Regions from separate parts of the Homo sapiens genome. Here regions 1, 2, 3, 4, 5 and 7 are each linked to region 6. The links are contacts of gene promoters, found by promoter capture Hi-C in blood cells and fetal thymus (Javierre and others, 2016). All regions are on one chromosome and are shown on one strand. The core of a region is centred on a gene start or on the middle of the fragment in contact, and the rest is flanking DNA. Distances in the headings are between cores, read along the strand shown. Region 1 overlaps UBE2E3 (ubiquitin conjugating enzyme E2 E3). Region 2 overlaps UBE2E3 (ubiquitin conjugating enzyme E2 E3). Region 3 has its middle 14 kb from the start of LINC01934. Region 4 has its middle 53 kb from the start of LINC01934. Region 5 has its middle 35 kb from the start of LINC01934. Region 6 holds the start of ITPRID2 (ITPR interacting domain containing 2). Region 7 overlaps LINC01934 (long intergenic non-protein coding RNA 1934).

The links. Contacts are between HindIII fragments. The CHiCAGO score rates a contact against its expected background, and 5 or more counts as called.
Region 1: a contact is called between a fragment that was not itself captured here and the fragment with the promoter of ITPRID2 in region 6, in 2 of 17 cell types (total B cells and total CD4 T cells). The highest score is 6.6, in total B cells.
Region 2: a contact is called between a fragment that was not itself captured here and the fragment with the promoter of ITPRID2 in region 6, in 4 of 17 cell types (naive CD8 T cells, total CD8 T cells, naive CD4 T cells and 1 more). The highest score is 7.1, in naive CD8 T cells.
Region 3: a fragment that was not itself captured here is called in contact with the fragment with the promoter of ITPRID2 in region 6 in 1 of 17 cell types (naive CD4 T cells); the score reaches 5.0 in naive CD4 T cells.
Region 4: a contact is called between a fragment that was not itself captured here and the fragment with the promoter of ITPRID2 in region 6, in 10 of 17 cell types (naive CD4 T cells, total CD8 T cells, total CD4 T cells and 7 more). The highest score is 9.5, in naive CD4 T cells.
Region 5: a fragment that was not itself captured here is called in contact with the fragment with the promoter of ITPRID2 in region 6 in 4 of 17 cell types (non-activated CD4 T cells, activated CD4 T cells, total CD4 T cells and 1 more); the score reaches 6.8 in non-activated CD4 T cells.
Region 7: a contact is called between a fragment that was not itself captured here and the fragment with the promoter of ITPRID2 in region 6, in 1 of 17 cell types (total B cells). The highest score is 7.4, in total B cells.

Annotation. Positions count from the first base shown.
Region 1 is chr2:181,027,865-181,031,217 of GRCh38, forward strand. The region is part of intron 3 of UBE2E3 (ubiquitin conjugating enzyme E2 E3); the gene reads left to right. Among named protein-coding and RNA genes, the nearest start is that of UBE2E3-DT, 49 kb to the left of the region's middle. The HindIII fragment of the contact is 3,673 bases long and covers 1-3,353 here.
Region 2 is chr2:181,045,339-181,048,896 of GRCh38, forward strand. The region is part of intron 3 of UBE2E3 (ubiquitin conjugating enzyme E2 E3); the gene reads left to right. Among named protein-coding and RNA genes, the nearest start is that of UBE2E3-DT, 66 kb to the left of the region's middle. The HindIII fragment of the contact is 2,231 bases long and covers 836-3,066 here.
Region 3 is chr2:181,107,944-181,111,226 of GRCh38, forward strand. No RefSeq gene overlaps it. Among named protein-coding and RNA genes, the nearest start is that of LINC01934, 14 kb to the right of the region's middle. The HindIII fragment of the contact is 1,196 bases long and covers 975-2,170 here.
Region 4 is chr2:181,069,033-181,072,803 of GRCh38, forward strand. No RefSeq gene overlaps it. Among named protein-coding and RNA genes, the nearest start is that of LINC01934, 53 kb to the right of the region's middle. The HindIII fragment of the contact is 267 bases long and covers 1,228-1,494 here.
Region 5 is chr2:181,087,308-181,091,099 of GRCh38, forward strand. No RefSeq gene overlaps it. Among named protein-coding and RNA genes, the nearest start is that of LINC01934, 35 kb to the right of the region's middle. The HindIII fragment of the contact is 984 bases long and covers 1,231-2,214 here.
Region 6 is chr2:181,890,204-181,893,981 of GRCh38, forward strand. ITPRID2 (ITPR interacting domain containing 2) reads left to right here and starts at 1,527. Exons shown (of 18, transcript NM_001130445.3): 1 at 1,527-2,074; 2 at 2,412-2,457. The coding sequence starts at 1,864. RefSeq lists silencers at 1,404-1,733, 2,024-2,163. The HindIII fragment of the contact is 2,528 bases long and covers 1,147-3,674 here.
Region 7 is chr2:181,184,697-181,188,023 of GRCh38, forward strand. The region is part of intron 1 of LINC01934 (long intergenic non-protein coding RNA 1934); the gene reads left to right. Among named protein-coding and RNA genes, the nearest start is that of LINC01934, 63 kb to the left of the region's middle. The HindIII fragment of the contact is 1,934 bases long and covers 904-2,837 here.

The DNA.
Region 1 (3,353 bases), core at 480-2,979, 860 kb before region 6:
CAATCATGTACTGCATAATGCATAGAAAAGAATACATGTAACATTTTTTGAAGCATAACAGTAACACAATACTGATGATTTCTCACCCAGCTTAAAAACTAGATGGTATCATTGAATCTCTATATGTTGTCTGTCCCTATTCAGTCACTCTATTTCCCTTCACCCAGATGTGATCATTATTCTAAGATGTTTTCATTCATTTCCTTACTTCTTATAAAAATAATGGTTTCTGAATGTATTACTAAACGGCATATATTGTTTAATTTTGAGCACTATACATTACATAATGTAATTACCTATTAATGTAATTATTATAATGTAATTATACTTTTTTCTCTTAAATCTTGTTTTAAGATTTATTTGAGTCTTGGCATGTAGCTATAGTTAAATTTCATGCTGTATACGATTTTATTACGTGGATATACTTGTATTCATTGTAGTAGGGTATATTGGGTGTTCCATGTTTATTTTGTTTTTTGTCACTATGAACAATCGTACTGTGAAGATTACTGAACATGTGTTCTAGTAATATGTGAGTAAATTCTTTCATTGTATATCTAAGAGTGGAATAGGTGAGTCTCACAGAGAACGTGCATATTCAACCATGCAAGATAATGCCAAATTGGTGATACACTGATACACATTTCCACCAGCAAAGTGCAATAGTTCTCTTTGCGCTGCAGGTTTATCAACTCTGACAATCTTCAGACTTCTTGATTTTTCCTAATCTATGGGTATAAAAATAGTATTTCATCATGGTTTTAATTTGCATTTCCTAATAATGAGGTTGAACAATTTTTTTATGTTTATCTTCCATTCTCATTTCTGTGAAATGCCTTTTTTTTGTTATTTGTCCCCCTGCCCCCAATTTTGTTTTATTAGGGGTTCTTATGTATTGTGGATACAGATGCCTTTTGTACATATATGTTGCAAAAATCTTCTCTCTGTTAATGACTTGGTTCTTTTATGGTATATTAGTGAAAAGAACTGAATTTAAATGGTAGTTAAATTTATCAGTCTCTTATATGATTAGCACTTTTTGTGTCATGGTTAAGAAATTACTTTCTGTCCCAAGGTCTCGAGGATATCTTTATTTTTTTTTCAAAGGCTTGCCCTTAGTGTTCCAAATTTATTTGGAATTGATTCTTTGAAAAGGGTAAGGTAGTAGTCCAATTTCATTTTTCTCCATATGGATAACTATTTGTTTTAGTAACTTTATTGAATAGTCCAGTGGCTAGAGTGCCATCTGTCATTTCATGATTCTTTTTTTGCCTAGTTCTGTGTTGGGCTCTTCCATTCTATTCATCAAGTTGTCTATCTCTGCACAAATAGTACATGATATAGTTTTAATTACTATAATTCTAATGAGTCTTGATATCTAGTAGGACAAGTATCTGTATTTTCATTAGGAGCTGCCTGACGCATTCATATAAAATGAGAATCAGCTTATCAAATTCCTTGGAAAAGTATTCTTGTGGTTTTAATTAGAATTTTATTGAATTTGAGAAATTAGAAGTAGAATTCTTAAAAATGTTGAATTTTCTTTTTCATAAACATACTGTATCACCCTCATTTATTTAGGATTTCTTTAATTCTGATTTTGCTTTGTAATTTTCTGTATTCAAGTATTGTACATCTTTTGCTAAATTTATTTCTAGGAGTTTAATATTTTTGATGCTTTTGTAAGTTTTATCTAAAAACTTGTTTTTTATCTAGCAACCTTGTATAAATGTTCTTTTTAATTCTAATAATTTGCTTATACATTACATTCTTTGATTTTTATCTGTAGACAATCTTTTTTTTTTTTTTTTTTTTAAGTTCTGTTTCTTACTTTACTGTCTAGGACAACCAAGTCATAATTGAGCTTCTTTTCTTGTTCCATGTTTTAAATGGAGCGGTATAAACTTGTCATCTTTAATATTGATGTTTGGCGTGGGTGTTTGAAAAGGTATTCTTTATCAATTAATTCGGTCCCTTTTTTTTTTTTTTTTGAGACGGAGTCTCTCTCTGTCGCCAGGTGGGGGTGCAGTGGTGCAGTCTCGGCTCATTGCAACCTCTGCCTCCAGGGTTCAAGTGATTCCCCTTCCTCAGCCTCCCGAGCTGGGACTACAGGCGCCCGCCACCATGCCTGGCTAATTTTTGTATTTTTAGTAGAGACCAGGTTTCATCATGTTGGCCAGGATTTTCTTGATTCCTTGACCTCATGATCCACCTGCTTCGGCCTCCCAAAGTGCTGCGATTACAGGTGTGAGCCACCACACCTGGCTCCTCTATTTTTCCATGAAAGTATTTTGGTTGTCTTTGGTGGTGGTGGTGGTGGCCTTATGTAAACTCTTCATTGGGCATTAAATTTTAATGAATACTTTATCTACTAAAGTAATAATCATATGGTTTTGCTTTAATCTATTAATATGATAAATTGAATATGTATATTTTTCTTTTGTATTTATTTATTTATTTATTTTTTGAGACGGAGTCTTGCTCTGTCGCCCAGGCTGGAGTGCAGTGGCACGATCTCATCTCAGAATGTGTATATTTTTCTAATGTCAGACTAACTTTGCATTTCCAATTTGGCAATATATATTATCTTTTTTCAATATGAACAGTCTTGGATATGATTTGTTACTAAGAGTCTTACATGTGTGTTCATGATTTGAGATTGGCTTCTTTTTTTCTTACACCTAATTAGCCTGTTTTTAATACTGGCCTCAGAGAAAAAAAATTATTTTTTTATTTTTTATTTTTGATTCTCAGAAGCGTTTTAAGAGTGGAATGATCTCACTTGAAATTTGATAGAAGTCTCCTGTAAAACTATGTGGACCTGGTGGTTTTGTATTTGGGATAAGGTGGGGAAAAGGTGGAAATTAACTACAAGTCCCATCTCTATATTGTATAACCAGTATTCACTTAGTCTGTTCTTTTTAGTAGGTTGAATTTTTCTAGGAATTAGAGCATTTATTTTTTTCATGTCTGTTATTTCTGTCTTCTCTCTGTCTTGTCACAAGGTTTCTATGTTTTATTAGTCTTGACCCAAAAATTTAAAAAAAATTTTAGTTTTTATTGACACTATTTTGTGTTTGTGTTGTGTTTCACTAGTTTATACTATTACGTTTGTTACCTTTTCTATTTACTTGAGCTAATTTTGCTGTTCTTTTTGTAATTTTTTAGATTGGGTTCTTAATTTTTAGCTTTTCTTCTGTAATACAAACATTAAAGCTGTACATTTACCTCTAAGTACTGATTTTTGTGGCCTCTCATACTATTTTTTTAAAAAATTTGTTAAAAATTGCTTTTGGACCTAATGTATTGTTAGATTTTATACATATGTCCAGTGTGCTTGAGAAAAATATCTC
Region 2 (3,558 bases), core at 701-3,200, 840 kb before region 6:
AATAAATTCACCACAATCTAAAGATGTTAATGAGTTTTGGCAAAAGTTATAATAGCTTCTTACATCTTTCTGCACAATAGGAGTAACAGTTAGAGAGCCCAGGCAATTATGTCACATCTGAGGATTGGAATACTTTCTTGTTTTCATTCTTTTTTTCCCCATTCTTTCTGCATATCTGCTCTCCCCGTCTCCAGTTGTTTTGAATCATGGCTGAGCATTTTATCACCTGATGAGTTTTTAAAGCTCTGTAAGCTCAGACCAAGCCCCAGACTAATACATCAGAATCTCTAGGGGTGGGACCTGGTATTGGGTAAGTTTTTAAACTCCACAGGTGATTACATTTGGCAGCCAAGGTTGGGACCCATGGTTTCAGATGTAGTAACCACATCAATTAACTTAGTACCTCTTAAGAAGGTTGCTTATTAGAATAACCTGGGAGATTTTCTCCACACTGTTCCCTCCCTTCCACTTCCCTTATTAATTTAGTGAGCCAGTGTTAACTGATGGGAATATACACATACCCTTGGATATGTTGGGACAGAAAAAAAAAAGACAACAATCAATTTGTTAAGTACTATTTTTCCTACACTCTTTTTGGAATATAGTCTGCTTATATAAGTGACTTTGTATCTATCCAGCATTATTTTATGTGGATAATTTTGTGTTGTTCAGTATTTGCATAATCACTGTGAGGGCAAGGACCTTGTATGTTCTTCTGTTCATCACTGTATTTTCAGTACCCACTAGTGCCTGGCACATGGTAGATAATCAGTAAATGTTAGAAGAGTGAATCAGTAACACTGAGTACCCCACATAAGTGCCAGCTATAGTATGAAGCTTTGTAATTACATTGTCCACCAAGGAAAAAGATCTTCCATAAAGCCACAGATAAGCAGGAAATAGATTTATTGAATTTTGAGTCTTTCGCAGGTCAGGGATTCCGTGTAGGCATTAAGGTTCTGAACAAAAATGTAGCACAAAACACAAATACTTGCTAGCAGAAGATACATTTCCATACCTGCCCTCGTATATCAAACTGCAAAACATACAGAAAAAAACTAATGGACAAACAGGTGCTGTTAGAGTCTGTGTTTAGTTTAAGCCTCATGATAAACTGGGCTAGAGCTTGACACATTTATCAACTGTTAGTTGTATTTTACCTAATCATAGCCTGTCTTAAAGGCAGAAAATGAAAACAAGATGATCTGTCACATATGGTTAAGTTGTAATTCAGATTTACAATATATTGGCGAAATGGCTTCAGTTTTGGATGAGCCCTTAAACTGTACAGTGTGCAAAGAATGGGGGAGGGAAGAGACCTAAGAAGGGTTAAGTAATCTTAGCCAAGATTTCTAAAAGCTCTTATTAATCTGATTTTTCAGAATTAGAAAATCTCTGTTGTCAGAGTTCTCCAGTTTGGGGTTTGATAAGAAAGCATATCATAGAAATTACTCTGCCTACCTAAAATCCTTTATGGTTTAGATTTTATTCTGTAGTGCCTTTACAGCACTCTTAGTGCTTCAGCCATAGCCCCAGTTTTGACTTATTGGGCCCCTGTCCCTCTTATTTTTCAAATTAAAAATTACACAGAAAACTATTCAGAGTAGAAAGAGTATAAGTGAAAACTAGGTTTCCTTTTCACTACAGAGCACCACATCCTTTTTAGAGGTAACCAGTATTAGCATTTCCTTCTGTATTTTTACAGAAAGAGTTAGTTCATATTGCCAGCATACACATGCAGGTAGTTTTTGTAGTTTATTGGCATGATCACCACATGACTAGATGACGTCTTTAGTTTCTAACACACTTTTCAAACCCAGCTTCTTTCCATATCTCTTCATGTAATTAATCTCTCCTCTGCTTTGTTTCCATTTGCTTTTTTGTCCCTCTGTTAAACACCTGTTAGAGGTCTGACATGTATTATTGGGACTTAGGTGTGGTGGTCTCATCTCAGGTATCATCTCGCCTTCTTACTCTGTACTCTTTACCTAGCCTGGCTCATCCCACCTGCAGGACATTAAGGACCTGTGTATCAAGGTCTCACAAATTTATATCTATAGGACCAGGCCCCTTTATCTTACTTGTCTGTCTCTTTGACATACTTATCTTTTGGATATCTCATAAACTTCTTAGTCCCAGTGTATCCAAAACCAACTTTTTTTTCAACATCCATATCTTAGTTAATGGCATATACATTATCTCAGTCATAGCAGTCTGAAAACTATAAGCTATTCTCGAAACCCTCCTTTTCCTCACTTGTCCTATTTCAAAACGTAAGTCTGGTTGATTTTTGTTTTGTTTTGTTTTTTTCCTCCTAAATAACTCTCAAGTCCCTCTTCTTTGTCTCTGGTACCATATTAGTCTAGCCTATCATCATCTTTCACCCAGATTACTGCAGTGGTCCACCCACAGCCCCTCCGGGCCTCCTCCAGACCATTTTCCACAGAGCAGCCTGAGGAGGCCTTGCAAAATGTCCATATTAGTTTAACACTCCCCCTTTGTTGCTTAAAATCTTTTGATAGCTGCCTATTTCTTTTAATATAAAGACAAGTCTCCTTCATGTAGTCTTACAAGGTCCTGCCTAGACGTTTGTTACAGCTTCCCTCATTAGGTCGTTTCATTGTACTTCCCATGTTCTCTTCCCTTCTGCCACATTGTGCTTCCAGGCCCTGCTACTTGTTCCTGATGGCCTCAGGGCATTTTCCTATGCTTTGAAGTCCTCTTTCCCAGCCCTTTCCTTTCAGCTTCTACTGATAAACCCCCACTGGGGTATTTGAAATAATCTTTTAAATATTGCTTCCTCTGACTCTTCCCTTATCTCTCTAACATTTCCCCGGCATTCAACAAGGAATACCTTGCCTTTGTAGCGTTTTCTGTTTTATGTTTTTTTGTGAGTTTATTTGATTAAGATCTATATCCTCAGCTTGGCTGAAATCTCCATTGTATATTTAGTTTCTTGTACAGATTCCTAGCCCCAAATCGTAGACACTCAATAACTCCTTAATGAATGAATGAATTTGTTTTCTTTATTGAATCTAACAAGTACTGTATTTTGTATATTGTTAAAGCTTAAATACTTTTTTTGATTCAAAGTAAATTCATAGGTTCACAAGGCACAGTATGGATTAATAAGCAATACCATTTCCTGGTTGGTTGTTATAGAGATTACATAAGAATTCACACATTTACCAAAACGAGGTCATTCTTGGGAAGAGGAGTAGGAAGATAAAATCATGGGAACCACTAGCACATACCTAGGTCTGCCCTTTTAGTTAGTAGAATTATTTTTCTACGTTATTTCCCCAGCCACTCCTCTCACCCTAATTGTCTGTATTATAGCTTTCCCTAATTGTGAACTCCTAATTGCTTTCAACCTAAATAAATATGATTCTTTCTAAAACACTCAGGAATAACAACTGTTCACTTATAAACAGTTTTTGAAGTTTGGAAAGCAATATAGAGGTTTGGCTTTACTTTAGAAAAATATTACAGAAGCTACCTGTGTTCTCCGCCTACTTCACACATGCCCATTTAGCATTTGATGTACTTCATATAATT
Region 3 (3,283 bases), core at 323-2,822, 780 kb before region 6:
TAGGCATATTTTGAACCATATAGTTTTCTAAACCTATATATATATGTATGTGTGTGTGTGTGTGTGTGTGTGTGTGTGTATTCCCTATCTCAGAGTCAACACCTTAGTTACTTTTCTGACAAATAAAATATAGTCATAACATAATCTCTCTTATTGCTCCTACTGATAAATTATTTGCATCTGGCTTACTTGTAATTTGGTGGCAAAATCAATGTTTGGTGAAATGATTCTGAAAACTTCAGGGGCACTATAGTTTTCATTTATTTACATGATATGCTATTTTTAAAGAACCAGTCATTGCCAGAATTCTACGTTAGTTCATCTTCTGAGAATATAATGGGAAAAAAAAGAAAGAAAGAAGTTCATATCTAATGTACATGGAGTTTTCTTCTCCAGTCTGATAATTCACTCAAGTAACATGCCTCAGATTTCACTTCCAGGCCCACCCTTGCTCGTCTCTGCTCAATACCAGAAACTAGAGTTGTGTGTCATCCAAGTTTTTCTAATTTTTTATTTTTTCAGCAGGTATCACTGTGTGCCCACCATGTGCATGAATAAAGTCCCTATTTCTGGGTGGCTACAGCCCAGTTGTGAAGATAACACATAGATGTGAAATATTGAATGAATAATACCACAAGTCAGTATACATTTAAATATGCCAAAGGCAGAAATTGTTGAGGAAATTCACTTCTGAAAACTCTTAACATAGTCTGTAAAGCTTAATATTCGCCAGTTGTTCAATTTCCATTGTTATTTACAAAAATGAAGCTTTGAATTAAGGAAAAAAAAAGCACCATCTGCCTACCCATGCAATAATGCTTGGTTTTATTCCCAAGCATATCAACCACTGGCTTGGCATTTTAACTAACTGAAGTAATTTTCTCGTTAGAGTGTGTCTGTGTCTACAAAATGCATTTTTCCTGGTTACTCATTTTAGTATTTCTGCTCTCTAGCTCTGCCTATGCTGGACTTGAAGCTTTCTGTCTGTAAGTACAGCCACCTTGTTAAATGATTCATACCTTCTAGGTACCTCAAGTGCAGACTATACCTGATGCCCCTTCTTTTCCAGTTACTTATTCAATCAATCCCATCAATCCTTTTATTAATTGATTGTTTAGTCAATATTTATATTGAGTGCCTATTTTCTGTGGGCACAAACGGCACATACCGGCCTTTAAAGATACAGAGAAATGTAGAGCATACCTGCCCTCAACTACATTTCAAAGAAAAAGTGCATATAAAAATATTCTGTCTGGGCTGGATGTGGTGGCTGATGCCTGTAATCCCAGCACTGTGGGAGGCTGAGGTAGGTGAATCACTTGAGCTCAGGAATTAGAGACTAGCCTGGCCAACATGGCAAAACCCTGTCTCTACTAAAAATACAAAAATTAGCCGGGTGTGGTGGCACACACCTATAACCTCAGCCACTCTGATGGCTGAGACATGGAGAATCTCTTGAACCGGGGAAGGGGAGGTTACTATGAGCAGAGATTATGCCACTGCACTCCAGTCTGGGTGACAGAGCGAGACTCTGTCTCAAAAAAAGAAAAAACAATCTGTCTTAAGTAGAATTTTCTAAGTGTCAGAGAGAATGTTACACATTTATTCATTCAGTCCATCAATTTATTTAGCAAACATTTATATTTATTGAGCATTGTGATATGTCAAGCATTCTGACTCACTGGAGATACAAAGATGAATAAATCATATATGGTGCCTGCCTGCCTTATATGAATTTAGAGTAAGTTGATACCATGGTAGGCTAGAACTTTGTTCCTCCACGTTTGTCTGAGAACCAGGAGCATTGGCATCACCTAAGAGCTTCAGAAATAAATAATTTTAGGCTCCATCCAGATATACTGAATCAAAGTCTGCATTTTATTGAAGTGCCCAAGTGATCCAAAGTGAAGTTTGAAAATCACTGGGCTAGAAGGATTATGGAATGCTTTTGTGGAGGAGCTGAAATAAGTAGATATCATCAAGTTTTATTAAAAGAGGAAGGAAGACTTGTTAAAAAGGATTGGATAACATCTGAAATCTAATTTAGGATATGGGGTTTTCAGAGCTGGTTGGGAATGATTATTCAAACAATGATGGGAAATGACCCAATAGTTGGTTGATGATCCACAGGGAGAGGAGTGGTGATAATGTATGATAATATGGCACTCAAAGCTTAGAGAAAGATGAGTGGTCTAGATTCTAGACTCTAGAAGTAGCAATGGGATACTGATGGTGATGCAGTGGCTAAAGGCAAGATTTTCTCATCCCAAGCATGTAGAGGTAAACACTCATATTCTCACAGGTGATATTTAAATTAACTTTTAGGATTTATATTTTTTGAATCCTAAAATTACAGTGAAAGTCAATAAGTAGATACAAATCCAGCTAGTAAAATGTTTTTATATATGCCAGTTTTTTTCAAAATACATTTAATTTATTGGACCTTAAATATGAGAAAAAAAGGAGGTAATCTTAATGGAGAAAGGCTGTTTACATTTTTATCTACAGAGTTATGTCTTCATAATCAAGAGAAGTCCCAGACAAGATTGTGAGAAAATGAAGTTTATCTGTAGTGGCTTTATGTACTTCAATCATCTTTCTGTTATCTTCCTCTCAGTTTTTGTAATCCAACACAAGGAAATGAAGACACCATGTGGTCGGAAGTCAATAAGAGTAATATTGAGGGAATGGTGACCTCCTCAAATGCATTGGTTTTTGTTTTTGCTTGAGACAGAATTTTGCTCTGTCATCCAGGCTGGAGTGCATTGGCGTGATCAAAGCGCACTGCAGCTTCCCATGCTTAAGCTATCCTCCCATATTAACCTCTCAACTAGCTGGGGCTACTGATGCGCACCACCATGCCTGGCTAATTTTTTAAGATTTTTGTAGAGATGAATTCTCACTATGGTTGCCAGGCTGGTCTCAAATTCCTGAGCTTAGGTGATACTCCCACCTTGGCCTCCCAAAATGCTGGGATTACAGGTGTAAGCCACCACACCTGGCAAATGCATCATTTTGAATCACAGGATCTCAACTGGCTTCTGTCCTCCTGTGAAGTCAAGTCCTCCACACAGGGATACTTCCCCTCACAGGTTTGAAAGAATTTAAGGCGCCAGTGCTGTGTAACCTTATGACAATCATAGACAAGGTACCTTTGCTCATTGGGCCCTTAAGACTGCCTCCGCAGATGATTTCATTTCTGAGATGCTTTAAAAGTGACATCCATATCTCCTGTTTTTTTTTTTGACATCTGTTAGTGTGGCTTTAACATATTCAGTGTGCT
Region 4 (3,771 bases), core at 111-2,610, 820 kb before region 6:
CATATATAATGTTTTACTTGTGTATGTATATCATCTCAATTATGAGCCCCTAGAAATAAGGGATCCAATTTATTTCATTCAGTAAGTTATTAGTTGTGTACACTGGAATATTGGTTTGGGTGCTTAGGATTAGCAGTGAATAAAATACACGAAAATTCCTACCCTTATGGAGTTTACTTTCAATTGCTAGGAGACAGACCAAAAAAATTTAAAAGTGTATATATATATGTGTGTGTGTGTGTGTGCGTACGCACACATTCTCACACACATATATGTATGTTAGATGGTAAGTGTTATGGAGAAAAACAAAGTAGGGAAGGGAAATAGTGTGTGCAGTGAGGGAGAAAGAAAGGGGAGGTTGAATTACAGTTATAACAAGGGTAGTCGGGGAAGACCTCACCTAAAAAATGAGTCAAGAGCTGAAGATGGTGAGGAATAAGCCACATAGGAAAAGAGTCCTACAGGCGGAGGGAATACCAACTGAAAAAATCTTGTAACAAGAGCATGCCCAATGCATTCAAAAGGTAGCAAGTGCTTAGGAGGGCTGGAGCAGGTGAGCAACTAGGAGAGGAATAGGAGGCCAGGTCAAGAAGATGACAGGTGGGCAGATCACATAGGGTCTTGTATTTCATTTTAAGGAGTTTGGCTAGTATTCTAAATAAGATGGGACACCACTGGAAGCTGTTTTTAGCCAACGAGCAACAGGACATGATTTATTAGAATCTGATCAGTCAGAGAAAAACTTGCTGTGGGGCTAAGGAATTGGGAGCAGGGGGACCAGTTAGGAGGCTAATGCAGTAATCCAGGTGAGAGATACCAGTGACTTCAACCTGGGTGGTGGCAGTGTAAGTAGTAAGAAAAGGTCAGGTTCTGGTTAAAAATAGAGCTAAGAAGATTTGCTGATAGATTGAATATGTGGTGTGAAAAAGGAGTTAGAGTTTAGGGCCTGAGCAAACTAGTAGGCTGTAGTTGTCATTAACCAAGGTGAAAAACTCGAGGGTGAAGCAGGATAGGGAGAAAGATTATGAGCTTAGTTTTTGACAGGTTAAGTTTGAAATGCCTATTAAACATCCAAATGGAAGTGCAAGATTGGATATACAAATTTGGAATTCAAGAGTTCTGGGCCAGGGATGTATATTTGTGACACGTGAGTGTGTAGTTGGTATTTATAGCTGTGAGACCTATGATCACTCACTCAAGGGAATGAGTGCTGCTAGAGAAGAAAGAAGCTTAGGCACTCCCAGCATTAGGAGGCTGAGGAGAGATGAGTCAGCAAAGTAATCCAGGAAGGAACGCTCAAGAAGTGAAAGGAAAATCAGGAGAGTGTGATAACCTGAAAGGGAAGTAAAAAGTTTCAAGGAGGTGGGAATGATCTACCCCATGAGAGACTACTGATAAGCCAAATAAAATAAGGACCTAAATAGCCATTAGCAACTCAGGAGTCCTAGACACTGGTGACTTTTATATGCAATTTTGTTGGAGCAATGAAATTAAAGCTTGATTGAATAAAGTAACAAGGAATAGAGAACTTGGAGACTCCTGACAATTTTGCAGTGAAATAGAGAAGTAGGGAGTAGTTGGAGTTTCTTTAAGATGGGAGAAATTACAGCATGTTTGTATATTGATAGGAAAGATTAGAGAGGAGGAAGTGGATGGTGTAGGGGAGGAGGAGCAGTGTCCTTGAAAAAGTTATCTGCTACATAATTTATTCAGGGTGTTTTCAAAGTTCTGCACTACCTTGGACATCTGTCTTTCTCCCTGACTAGAGCAGAAGCTCTTTGGGAAGTGCAGCATCCAGCACTTACAGCAGCATTGTCATTCACCAAATTCTTGAGTTCCCCTAGATAAGCAAGAGGGGATAGGATCTAGTACAAGTGAGGTGTTTGGCCCTTGTTGTGAATTTGCAGAGGACATGGGCATAGGTGAGATTGGAGGGTAGATGTGGTTCGTAGGAAGTTCTTTGGTAGCTTCTACTCCTCCATGAAACGAGATGTTATTGGCTGAAAGTGAGAATGGGGAGACGACAGTTCATACATCTGTGTGACCCATTAATGTCCAGCAGAGTAACTAGTCGTTTGTGGTCAAGTGTAAAAATGAATGATTGAGTTGTCTATCTGGATGAGCCTTTCGTTTATTTCATAGTTAACATGTTAATGAACATGCAATTAAAACATCCATATCAGCTCGAATGGCTCCTCTTTTTCATCAGGTATGGTTTAGCAGTTGTTTGAATCTTTAGCACCTTAATTTTTGTTTCATTCAAGTGATTTTCCTGAAGTCATTGAAGAATCTACCTTGACACCAATTTTAACTAGAGAAATTCAATTATTTGCTGAAAGTTAATACTGCTTTAAATGCTGGACACAAAAATAGTTACGCTGTGTTTCCCAAAGAGGTCATCATGGTCTAGTCAGGAAGAGGGGTGTCCAAGGTGAGTTACACAGAGCTTTGGAAAAGCCTCAGTGGATGGTGTGGCAGATGACGTCCCTGAGTTTGCTAGAGGAAAAATGACTCTAGAAAACTGAGTATTCTTCCCTGTTCTATTTTATGGATGTGGTGGTCAGAGAAGGACATAGTGACCAATTTCTGTGACCCTCACTTCCACCATTGGTCCCGTGGCAAGACTCAGTTACAAGCCTTCTCTCCCTTTGGATTGTACCTCACTCAGGAAGTACGGAATTTGAAGATCAGATTTCATTTCCAGAAAATCCATAAGGCAGTCACAGCTTATGACCAAGGCTCACACCTTTTTTTCTGCTTACCTTTCCCTGCTATTGTCCTGACTTCTTGCCTCCCAAGATTGATATGTAAGAAGTGGGGCCATTTTTTTGCTTTTCTCTGAAAAACTAGTCAGCAAAGAGGTTGGAATTTTAATTGGTTTAACTACTTAACTTAGAAAGCCAAGAGTTAAATACTTAGAAGTGAAACTTTTTTTCTTTTCCTGATTGGGTCTTTCTGAACAATATTTTTGCTGTGATTATTGCACATTTAAGCCCAACTGTACTTTTTATCTGAAAAAAAAATAGGATATGACTCTTAACTGTCGTAAGCAGATTACAATAATATTCTTTAGAACACGGGTGTCTAATCTTTTGGCATCCCTGGGCCACATTGGAAGAATTGTCTTGGGCCACACATTAAGTACACTAACACTATAACGGTAGCTGATGAGCTAAAGAAATGGCCCATGCATAAATATCATAATGTAAGAAAGTTTACTAATTTGTGTTGGGCTGCATTTAAAGCCATCGTGGGCTGCAGGTTGGACAAGTTTGCTTTAGAATATTTCACATTTAGAGTGGTAGTTGCTTTCTTTTTTTCTTATTTCTGAAGGAAGTCATGTCTTGATTCTGTTCTCTTCCTTCCACTCCTACTGTCTCATTCAGGCCCTTGGTTATTCCTTATCTAAAGGAATCTTTTAAAAGTTATCCTCTTGTTCATCCAAACAACACCAACCCATTCTTCACACCACTATCACATTAATCTTCCCAGAGTAAACTGTTTATCAGGACAGTCCCTGCTTCAACTTCAGTGGTTGTCTGTTGTTTACTGAATAAACTCCACACTCCACTTTCTGTCATTACATCAGTGTACTCCCTGGATGAAGCAGCATCTATTTCAGTAGCAGCTTCGGATGCATTCATTTCCTAGTGAAATACCAGAGTCACTCTTACCAGGGGCAGCAGTTCCGTATATCACTGAAACATATTTCCTCAGAGAAAGTGATAGTGACTCATTGAGAACATTTCCTTAATTCACCAACTCTTCTTC
Region 5 (3,792 bases), core at 473-2,972, 800 kb before region 6:
GAGTCTATGTTGTACAAGATCCAAAGCAGTGTTTCTTAAAGTGTGGTCCAAGAACACATCATTTTAGTTGATAGTTAGTATCCAGGCACCTGGGCTCTGCTCCAAATCTCTAAAAGAAATTATTGCAAAGTGGCCCAGGAATGTGCATTTTACTAAATGTCCAATATCATCTTTATGCATACAAATGGTTGAAACAACTGGTCAAGATGTGGACAGGTTGAAACAACTGGTCAAGATGTGGATTGTGGCCATGTGGCCATATAGTGCTTTTCAACAGCAGAGTTATTTCTCCCAGAGTAATAGACAAGAACAGGTCCATAGAAATAGTTTCTCTACAGCCATCTGTTGTTCATTTTTCTTCTCCACATCCTGAGATGGGGCACACAAAAAAGAAAGTCATCATTTTTATTCGGTAACAACCACTGCATTTTATTTGGTAACAGCCACTATAGCATACCTGCTATAGTGACAGCCTCCTAAAAGGATGCCTCTTGCTGGTTAAACATTTATGTGCTTTGTGTGAGAGGGGCATTTCATATGCCATAAAACACTGGTGTTCCATTTTCATAGCTTTATTCTTTTTTTAAATTTCTGTACTTGTAATTTTCAGTGATTTTTAATGGAGTTAGCCAAAAAAATAATGTTTCTCCCAAGTAGTGCACTATTATAGTGCTGTTTAGTGGTACTCCAATACAATACTCAACCAATGAAATAAAGCAAAAATATGTCCCATACAGAGCACAGCACGCCATGGTCACTCTGATTTCTTAAGTGATGTGAAACAAAAAGTAACCAAGAAAAAGAAGACAAAGTGTTTGTGGAGACAGCTTTATGGCTCCAAAATTACATTTTTACATTTATAGAAACAGCAACAGAATAATTTGATTCATTCCCTGTGTGTAAAGGGATGCAATGTTGATTGAAAACCGTCAGTCAAAAGTACGTTGTGCCTAGGAAACTATACATAGTGCTAATCGGGAGTCTTTGTAAAGAGATAATTCACTGAGCATTTGATAAATAAGCACAATGGGTATGCTCTACACACTAGTAGAGCCTGAGTCTTATCTGCCCCAAATTAAATGTTTTGTAGCCCATGCTTATGGTGAAGATCCATTTTCAAGCATTAGCCAAAGCATTGTGCCACAAAATTATTAAAAACTCAAAGAAATGAAAATTAACCAGATTTTATTATTATATATAATTCTGCATAAAACAGCCAAAAAGTGGAAAAGCTTAGGCAACTTCCTTGTCATTTTTCTCTATAACATTAAGCAATGAAACTCAATGACGTTTTCAGTTACTTTTAGTAAATTTACAAGCGCCTTCCCTAAAATGTATACATGTGAAAAGATAGGGATAAGAAATCAAATTAGTGATATATATATACTAAAGACATTAGGGTGGCCAGGAGGTAGCTCTAAGCTGGAATAATCAAGAAGGCTTCCTGGAAGAAGGGGCCATTGAGCTGAACCTTTATAGGAATTGGGGAACAGAAGATGGGAGAAGATGGTAGTAATAACATGATATGAAAAAGTGCATTTGGTAGATTATGTGCTTAAATATAGTTGTAGGAAAATATGTGTGTTGAGAAGGAGTAAGAAATCAGATTGGATATCCTGGGAAAGATGTCAGAATAGGAACAGCTCTGGTCTGCAGCTCCCAGTGAGACCAATGCAGAAGGCGGATGATTTCTGCATTTCCAACTGAGGTACCAGGTTCATCTCATTGGGACTGGTTAGACAGTGGGTGCAGCCCACAGAGGGCAAGCAGAAGCAGGGTGGGGCGTCACCTCACCCAGGAAGCACAAGGGATCGGGAACTCCCTCCCCTAACCAAGGGAAGCCATGAGGGACTGTGTGTGAGGAACAGTGCATTCTGGCCCAGATACTATGCTTTTCCCACATCTTCACAACACACAGACCAGGAGATTCCATCAGGTGCTTTCATCACCAGGGCCCTGGGTTTCAAGCACAAAACTGGGTGGCTGTTTGGGCAGACACCAAGCTAGCTGCAGGAATTTTTTTTTCATATCCCAGTGGCATCTGGAATGCCAGCAAGAGAGAACTGTTCACTCCCTTGGAAAGGGGGCTGAAGCCAGGGAGCCAAGTGGTCTTGCTCAGTGGATCCCACTCCCACGGAGGCCAGCAGGCTAAGATCCACTGGCTTAAAATTCTCACTGGCAGCACAGCAGTCTGAAGTAGACCTGGGACGTTCAAGCTTGGTGGAGGGAGGGACATCTGCCATTAGTGAGGCTTGAGTAGGTGGTTTTCCCCTCACAGTGTAAACAAAGCTCCCTGGAAGTTTGGACTTGGAGCCCACCACAATGCCACAAAGCCACTGTAGCCAGGCTGCCTCTCTAGATTCCTCCTCTCTGGGCAGGGCATCTCTGAAAGAAAGGCAGCAGCCCCAGTCAGGGGCTTATAGATAAAATTCCCATTTCCCTGGGACAGAGCACCTGGGGGAACGGGCGGCTGTGGGCACAGCTTCAGGAGACTTAAACATTCCTGCCTGCTGACTCTGAAGAGAGCAGCGGATCTCCCAGTACAGTGCTCTAGCTGTGGTAAGGGACAGACTGCCTCCTCAAGTGGGTCCCTGACCCCCGTGCCTCCTGACTGGGAGACATCTCCCAGCAGGGATCAACAGACACCTCATACAGGAGAGCTCTGGCTGGCATCTGCTGGGTGCCCCTCTGGGACGAAGCTTCCAGAGGAAGGAGCAGGCAGCAATCTTTGCTGTTCTGCAGCCTCTGCTGGTGATACCCAGGCAAACAGGGTCTGGAGTGGACCCCCAGCAAACTCCAGCAGACCTGCAGAAGAGGGGCCTGACTGTTAGAAGGAAAACTAACAAACAGAAAGCAATAGCATCAACATCAACAAAAAGGACGACAACACAAAAACTTCATCTGAAGGTCACCAACAGCAAAGACCAAAGGTAAATAAATCCAAGAAGATGAGGAAAAACCAGCGCAAAAAGGCTGAAAATTTCAAAAACCGGAATGACTCTTCTCTTCCAAAGGATCACAACTCCTCACCAGCGAGGGAACAAAACTGTATGGAGAATGGGTTTGATGAATTGACAGAAGTAGGCTTCAGAAGATGGGTAATAACAAACTCCTCCGAGCTAAAGGAGCATGTTTTAACCCAATGCAGGGAAGCTAAGAACCTTGATAAAAGGTTAGAGGAATTGCCAACTAGAATAACCAATTTAGAGAAGAACACAAATGACCCAATGGAGCTGAAAAACACAGCACAAGAACTTTGTGAAACATACACAAGTATGAATAGCCAAATCAAACAAGCAGAAGAAAGGATATCAGAGATTGAAGGCCAACTTAATGAAATAAAGTGTGAAGATAAGATTAGAGAAAAAAGAATGAAAAGGAATGAACAAAGCCTCCAACAAATATGGGACTATGTGAAAAGACCAAACCTACGTTTGATTGGTGTACCTGAAAGTGACGGGGATAATGGAACCAAGTTGGAAAACACACTTCAGGATATTATCCAGGAAAACTTCTTCAACCTAGCAAGACAGGCCAATATTCAAATTCAGGAAATACAGAGAATGCCACAAAGATACTCCTTGAGAAGAGCAACTCCAAGACACATAATTGTCAGATCACCAAGGTTGAAATGAAGGAAAAAAATGTTAAGGGCAGCCAGAGAGAAAGTTCTAGTTACCCACAAAGGGAAGCCCATCAGGCTAACAGTGGACCTCTCTGCAAAAACCCTACAACCCACAAGAGAGTGGGGGCCAATATTCAACATTCTTAAAGGAAAGAACTTTCAATCCA
Region 6 (3,778 bases), core at 277-2,776:
CCCTGGATAAAACTTTGAAGGCAGCATATTTTGTGGCACTTGACCAGCCCTTTCAATGCTTCTTCTTAGGTACCTTCTTTATTCATTCTCTTTTTCATCTTCCACACAGGCAGCGAGACTCTGACCTATTTTGGAGAGCCATTAAACTGTTAGCTGCATCCTACTACAGGACCCTTGAAGGCTGAGAAAGTCTTATAGGTTCAAAGAAAAGATTTTCTAGTAGTGAAATTTCAAGCCATAGAGATATTAATATCACTGTTCTAACTCCCCTGACATTTGGCAGTACATAGATGAGACTCAGGAGAATATTATGATGGTTCTGGAAAGCTAGTCTGGATTTTGGATTTGATCTTGGGGATATTAGTAAACCATTAGAAGATGTCTTGGAATTGTAAATCTAGAGCAATGCGCTAGAAAGGAGATAGGAAAGAATGAAGGCAGGAAAATCAGTGTGCTATTTTAGTAGTCTATGACTTATGTGTAAATGCCTGGACAAAAACTAGGCACTATTTCATCTCCAGAGCATTCTTCATTCCAAATTCTCCAAAAGTTATGGTTTCCTGTAGCTATCAATGACAATGCACTTAATTACCTTGTAATTCGAATGCTTCCATTAGGAATTTTACTATGCTCTGGATTTTAATTTCAAATGAAAAATAATTCCTTCCTTAAAATATTTTGTCTACGCAAAATATTCTTTTCAATCACGTTAAGATTTTAAAAAGTGTTCTAACTTGTTCTTCAGAGCATAGCCAAGTACAATAAAATATTGGAAGCCTTACTTATATGTATAGTTCAGATGTAACATTTAGGGGAACAATGCTGCTTGATAGGTCTGTCACATTGTGTCTGGTTTTGGATAGAATTTGAGTATTTTTGCTAATGAGAATTTAAACATAACAAAACGGAATGCCAAAGCTGGCTTTAAAAAGTTTTGAACCCTGACATCATTTGTTTCTTGTATCATGCTGTCTCACCAAAATCCAAGCAACTATCTCCACATTGTCCCAATTGTTTCCTCTATTCTCCCTCACCAAAGTCCAACTTCAATGTGAAATTTCCAGATTAAATATCCTTTCACAATTCATTTTCATTCATAACATAAACACGATAAATAACTTTAAGTATGAAAGTAGCACTCCAGGAAGCTTAGTCTTTTGCAGTTTTTACATTTTGGCAACACCAATCAAGCACCTCTTTCCGTCCTTACCCCAATTCCTTGGACACTAAAGAGTCTATATTCAGGCGACTCTTTCAAGTGTATGTTTCAGGGTGCCCAAGCAGACACTTGTTTTCTCGCGGGGGATGTTTTGTGAGACTTGGCCTCCCCACTTACGTTCTATTTTTAGGTGAGGGAGGAGGAGGAGGAGAGGAGGAAAGATTATTAACAAACTAATCTTGCCCATTCCGCGGGCAGTAGTCGGGGGCTGGCCTGCTCCGCGTCGCGCCGGGCGCGCCCCGCCCTACCGCGCCCCGCGCGGCCCCGGCCGGAAGGGGGCGTGGGCCGCCGCCGAGGGAAGGCGCGCAGACGCGCAGCGGCCGGCCTGCTCCGGGCGCGTCAGGCAGGGGGTGGGGAGCAGGGGCCGGGCGGGCGCTCGGCTCCCAGCCGCGCTCCCTCGGGCCACTAGCGCTCCCGCGCGCGCCCGGCCGCCTTCATGTGAAGCGCCGGCCCTCCGCCCCTTCCCTCCCCTTCCTTCCCTCCCTCCCTCCCTGTCCCCTCCTCCTCCTCCTCCTCCTCCGGCGCCCGCTTCAGCTCCCCGGGGCCCCCTGCCCGGCCGGGCGCTGACAGCAAGGGCGGGGGTCCCTGCCGCCGCCTTGTCTCGCGCAGGGTCCGGCTGGGGTAGCGGAGCCCCCAGTGCGGCCATGGACCGGCCCCTGTCGTCGTCGGCGGAGGCGGAGGAGGAACTGGAGTGGCAAGTGGCGAGTCGCAGGAGGAAGGCCTGGGCCAAGTGCCGCAGCTCCTGGCAAGCGTCGGAGACGGAGGATCTGTCCACAGAAGCGACGACGCAGGACGAGGAGGAGGACGAGGAGGAGGACCTCCCCGGCGCGCAGCTGCCGGCAGCGGGGGGAAGAGGTCGGTGCTCCCGGCCGGGCTCCGGGGGGAGGCTGGTGGGCTGGGGAGAGTCTCGTGCGCCCTGGGCGCCTGCCACGAGTTCTGGGAGAGCCTCGGGCACGGTAGGCCGAGGGGAGAGGGGACACTTCCGACCTTCAAACGCGCGCGCTGAACGAGGCGCCCCCAGCGTCAACACAGACAACTGGGTGCCATCCGATTTCCCTGCCAAGGGACACTGAGACGTGTCGCTTAGGCTGCATTTGCCGTGGTAGATTTTCCTACTTGGGAGGGTCCAGGGTGACTCCGCCGTCGTAGTGCTCCTGGGTGGTAACGTGCTGTCCCCTCTCTCTACCCCCAGGAAACGTGCCCAACGAGAAGATCGCGATATGGCTCAAGGACTGCCGGTGAGTGCTCCCTGGTCCGCCCGCGTCCCGGGGGAGATCCGTGCGGACGGGACGCCGGAGCAGAGCCACTCGGGCCGCGTCCCTGTGGGTCCCGCGACCGTTGTAAGCTACAAACCGGAAAGTGAGCCGGCGGATAGCTTCCTCCTCTAAGCGATTAGAAATGGAAGTGCTGTGACCGCTGATTATTTGGTGACCGTGTTGACTTTACAGTTAGGACTTGAGCTACTCACGCATCGTGTTAGCATCAGAGATCAGAAATCCAGAACAGATAATCATGCCATATTTGTTCTGTTTTTATTTGAAAGAATTCTCACATCTCGAACAGGATATTTTGTTTTGCTTTAGTTTTGGCATCTGTACAACTGGCACGGAATCATTTTCCTTTCAAATGTGTTTTAGACGAGTTTAATTTACCTAACTACACTAAATGGGCTTTAATTTTGTTTCTGTTTGGGGAGCTATTAAAACTAGCTAACTTTGTACTTATAGTTTACTTCTTGAACATGGAATTGTCAGATGGCACTGGAATTCTCAGGGAATAGAACTTTTAAAAGCATTCAGACTGCATAAATCTGTTTAATTACATGCTTTGGCAACTGGTACAAAAATGTTTGATAAAATACAGAGGAGATGAATCATGTTGCACGTAAATCTGACTACAGCAAAATGTACTTGTTTCTTATTCCACTTTGCTAGTTGTAAAATCAGGAATGTAGCCTTTAAACTTTTGTTGGTGTTTGCTTTCGAGCATATTTTTGCTTTCTCAATTTAGATTTTCTTAATATTTTGTTCAAATATTAGAGTTAGGGTAGTTTGTTTTGTTTTGTTGTGGAAAGTGATTCATATGCCAGTTTGCCTCCTCTAAAGACAGACAAGATATTGGCTACCATGATATTAATGCCTTGTTTTGATGAATCGACTGGAACCTTATTGAACACTCTTTATTACAGAACTCGTACCCTTTATTGGAAGTGTCATAGACCCTTCTGAAATATGATGACATATATGGAATAACTTCTGTTTAAAGATGCACAGAGGCAAATACACTGCTTGAAGTCCTTGGACCCCAGATTTACAATCTAGCTGTAAATCAATCTCCCAGTTTTCAGATAAGCCTTAGATATTAGATACTTCACTCAAAGTATGGATCAAGAAATTGTATTAATGTGCTATTGGTTCATTTAATTGTTAAATACTAAAATAGTCTATAATGTAAAAGCTTGAAATTTTGAATGTACATGTTCAAGACCTTTTGGGTGAGATCTGATAAAACTAGTATCTTTCAGGTTTCCACTTAGAAATGTGTTTGAGAAGTTGTTTT
Region 7 (3,327 bases), core at 621-3,120, 710 kb before region 6:
GCAGTAAGAACGTCTTATGTGCAGCTGTGTTTGGGAATCACTGTTCTAGAACATTTCCAGTGGTCTGTCAATGTATAAATTATGTGGCTCATTCCTGTGCCTTTCCAAAATAGAAGGCATCTATCTACTCCTGATGACCAGTTCTGAACTAAAAAAATTCAAATGCATTTTTGATATTATAGCTTACTTTCTATTATGCGATAATTGTGCTCCAAAACACAACAAAAACTGTAAAAAGATTTTTCCTAGAGTCTCGTAACCAATAGCTGTCTGCAGAATGCAGTCTTGTTAACACATGAGTTGTATTAAATATAAATTGTTTTTGAATTGCATATAATTAGATGTTTATAGGTAAAATGTATTATGTATGTACATACTGGATGGGGAAATATCTAAATATCTTTATTTTATCATATCCTAGATTAGTGTTTTAGGCAGAGTATCTTTTCCCACTATTCCTTGTAAGTAGAAGCTAAGCATAGGTTAACATCTCTTCCATGTCCTAACTAAAACCTTATTTTATTCTTAAAGCCTCACATAGAGTTTAGCAAGAAAACTTGATTCTCCCCTTTCTTTGAACTCACCCAGTTCAGTTCATACTACGTTTTAAGGGACTTGAATCTCCTGCTTCTCCCTATTACCCTAGTTCAGACCAGCATCCCTTACCCAGATTACAGCAATAGTTTTCTAACTGGTTTCCCTGCACTCTAACTTGTTCCCTTTTAATCCATTCTTCACACAGCCACTAGAGTGATCTTCGTAGTATGTGTTCATTTCACTTCTGGATCATGCAGAGATTCCCATAGCCCTGGGATGAAATCTAAACTACTTAACCTGCTTTAGGAGTTTCTTTATGTTTTAACCACTGCCTCTTCGGGTGAACTCTTGTCAGCCCACCATTTAAGCTTCATTCTTAGGACTTCCCGTTTCTGAGAAGCACCAAGCCCTGAGAGTTCTTCCACGAAGTTCGGCTTCCTCTTTCACGGGGATACTTTGATTTGGGAATGTGTTTGTGGATTCTTAAAGTCCAGATTGCTGAAAGTATTGTAGCACATGGTGCTTCTTTCTCAAAACACACACCATTCTGTAATCATTTCTCCATTCACTTGCTTGCATGAGGACAGAGGCCTTGCCATGTTTGCCCGACATTACTCCTTAGCATCTGACACAGTTCATGGCACGCAGAGAATAAAGAAAAATATTTATTGCATAAGCAAGGGAATGACATATATAGGTCTTTGCTCCTTTTCCTACTCTTTATACCTAATTCCAAGCTCCTCCTGAACTAGAAAACTCTCTGGCTGAAATCTGATCAGTCATGAAGCATGTGTACGGGAGCAACCATGTGAGCAAACAGATGCACATATGGGCCTCGGCTGAATTTGATATTACCAATTTGGAGATCATAATTAAATGCCAAATCTATTGTCATAGCCTGCTTAAAGTTCTCGGGGAGATCATTTCTGCTCTTTCATTTCTGGAATTAGTCAAGACCATACTATGTAGAGTGAATCATTAGCTACATATTTCTGAATGGTTTTGTAAGGTTGGTTCAAATTTATGGGTTTATGTTTCTATGTTCTCTACATTGGTACGTCTATGATATTTCATTGACATTTTACTGCATCTCTGAATTCTATATTCTTTGTTCAATTGACATGAATTTGATCACAACAGCAATTTTGAATTTCAAAGTTAAAATTATCAAGTGCAAAGCATAACACACCTAAAAGCCATGCTTTTCTACAATGTTTTAACCTAAATGTGGATAGTAATAATTAGAAAATTAATGAATTTCAAAAGATTTTTTGAGTCTTTTAAAAAAGTTATTTGTGCCTTACATTTTCTGACTCTATCTGAAAACAAATATTTACATTTATATTTTAAAATTGAACAGTAGACTTTATTCTCCTCTATCCGATTAGTACTTACTACTACAAACATGGAGCACATGGGACGTGCAGCAGCTAATATATCACAAAATAAGTGTGATTGGCAGGAAGAAAAAGCAAATAGGCTTTTTCAAGTTGTCTTTTTAAAATAAGTTTGTTATTTCTGCCATCTCATCAAGTTTCCCAGTTGCTTGGTGAATCTTTGAAGGGATCAGCAGTAGTGTTTATTGCCAACTAAGTAGGCCTCACCATAGTACATTTTGTAAAATGTAAAAAGAAATTCTGTGTAATTTTATCTTTTGACATATATTATAAAAAGAAGTAATGGCTTGTGGAGTGACTCACATAAGATACCAAATACAACACATAATGGAACATGAAAAGTCAGTAAAAAAGACAAATAACCTACTAACCTTCTTAAAGGGAGCTGCCATCTTTTCTGGACCCCCAATATCTGGAATTAGATTAATTATCATTCTTAGTCCAGGATACACTATCGTCATTTGACTAAGCATGGCCATCTTTTATTTGTTTTAATAATATAAAAATGTCCATGAGCCTCCAACCCCCACCCCCGACAAAGAACTGGAATTTATATTTATCTATACACTATTATTTATATGTATACACTATTTTGTATTTATCTATACACTATTTTCTAACCTCTTTCTCTCCCCTCAGAGATAAGCACTATCCCAAATTTTGTATATATTATTCTTTTTAAAGATAGTTTCATCACATACACATAAACAAAAATACATATACTTAAACAATACATTGTTTATGTCTGTTTGGTTTTGCTCCTTTTTGTTCAGCATTGTTATTGAGATTTATCCACATTGCTGTATCTGTAATTTTTGTTTTCAATTACTTTACAATATACAATGAATATATACCACAATTTATTTATCCATTTTCCTGTCAATAGACGTTTGGAATTTTTGAAGCTTTTGTTATTCTTGGCTGTGATGTAGGAACTCTCTTATGCATGTCTCTGTGCACACATGCAACTGTTTCTCTGTGTTTATACCTTGGAAGGCCATGGTACAAAATATTAAACTCTACAAGATTTACAACTCCAGAAATTATTTTTGACAAACTGATTTATCTTTACTCTCTAACACTTGGTATTGTCAGACTTCTTAATTTTTGCCAAATACTTTGAAAAATGATATTGTGATCTGATATTCATTTTCAAGGTTTTTTCATAAGATTGATCAGCTTTATCTGTTTATTTGTCAAATATATTCATTTTGATTAAAATATTATATCTTTTTCCCAGTTTTCCATTGCGTTTTAATTTTTTTTTTTTTTTACTGATCAAAATGACTTTTTCTATATACTTGATACTAATCCCTTCAGTATATCTATTGGAACTATCTTCTATTTTGTAGCCTGTCATCTTCTTTACAATGTCTTTTAATTTTAATATGCC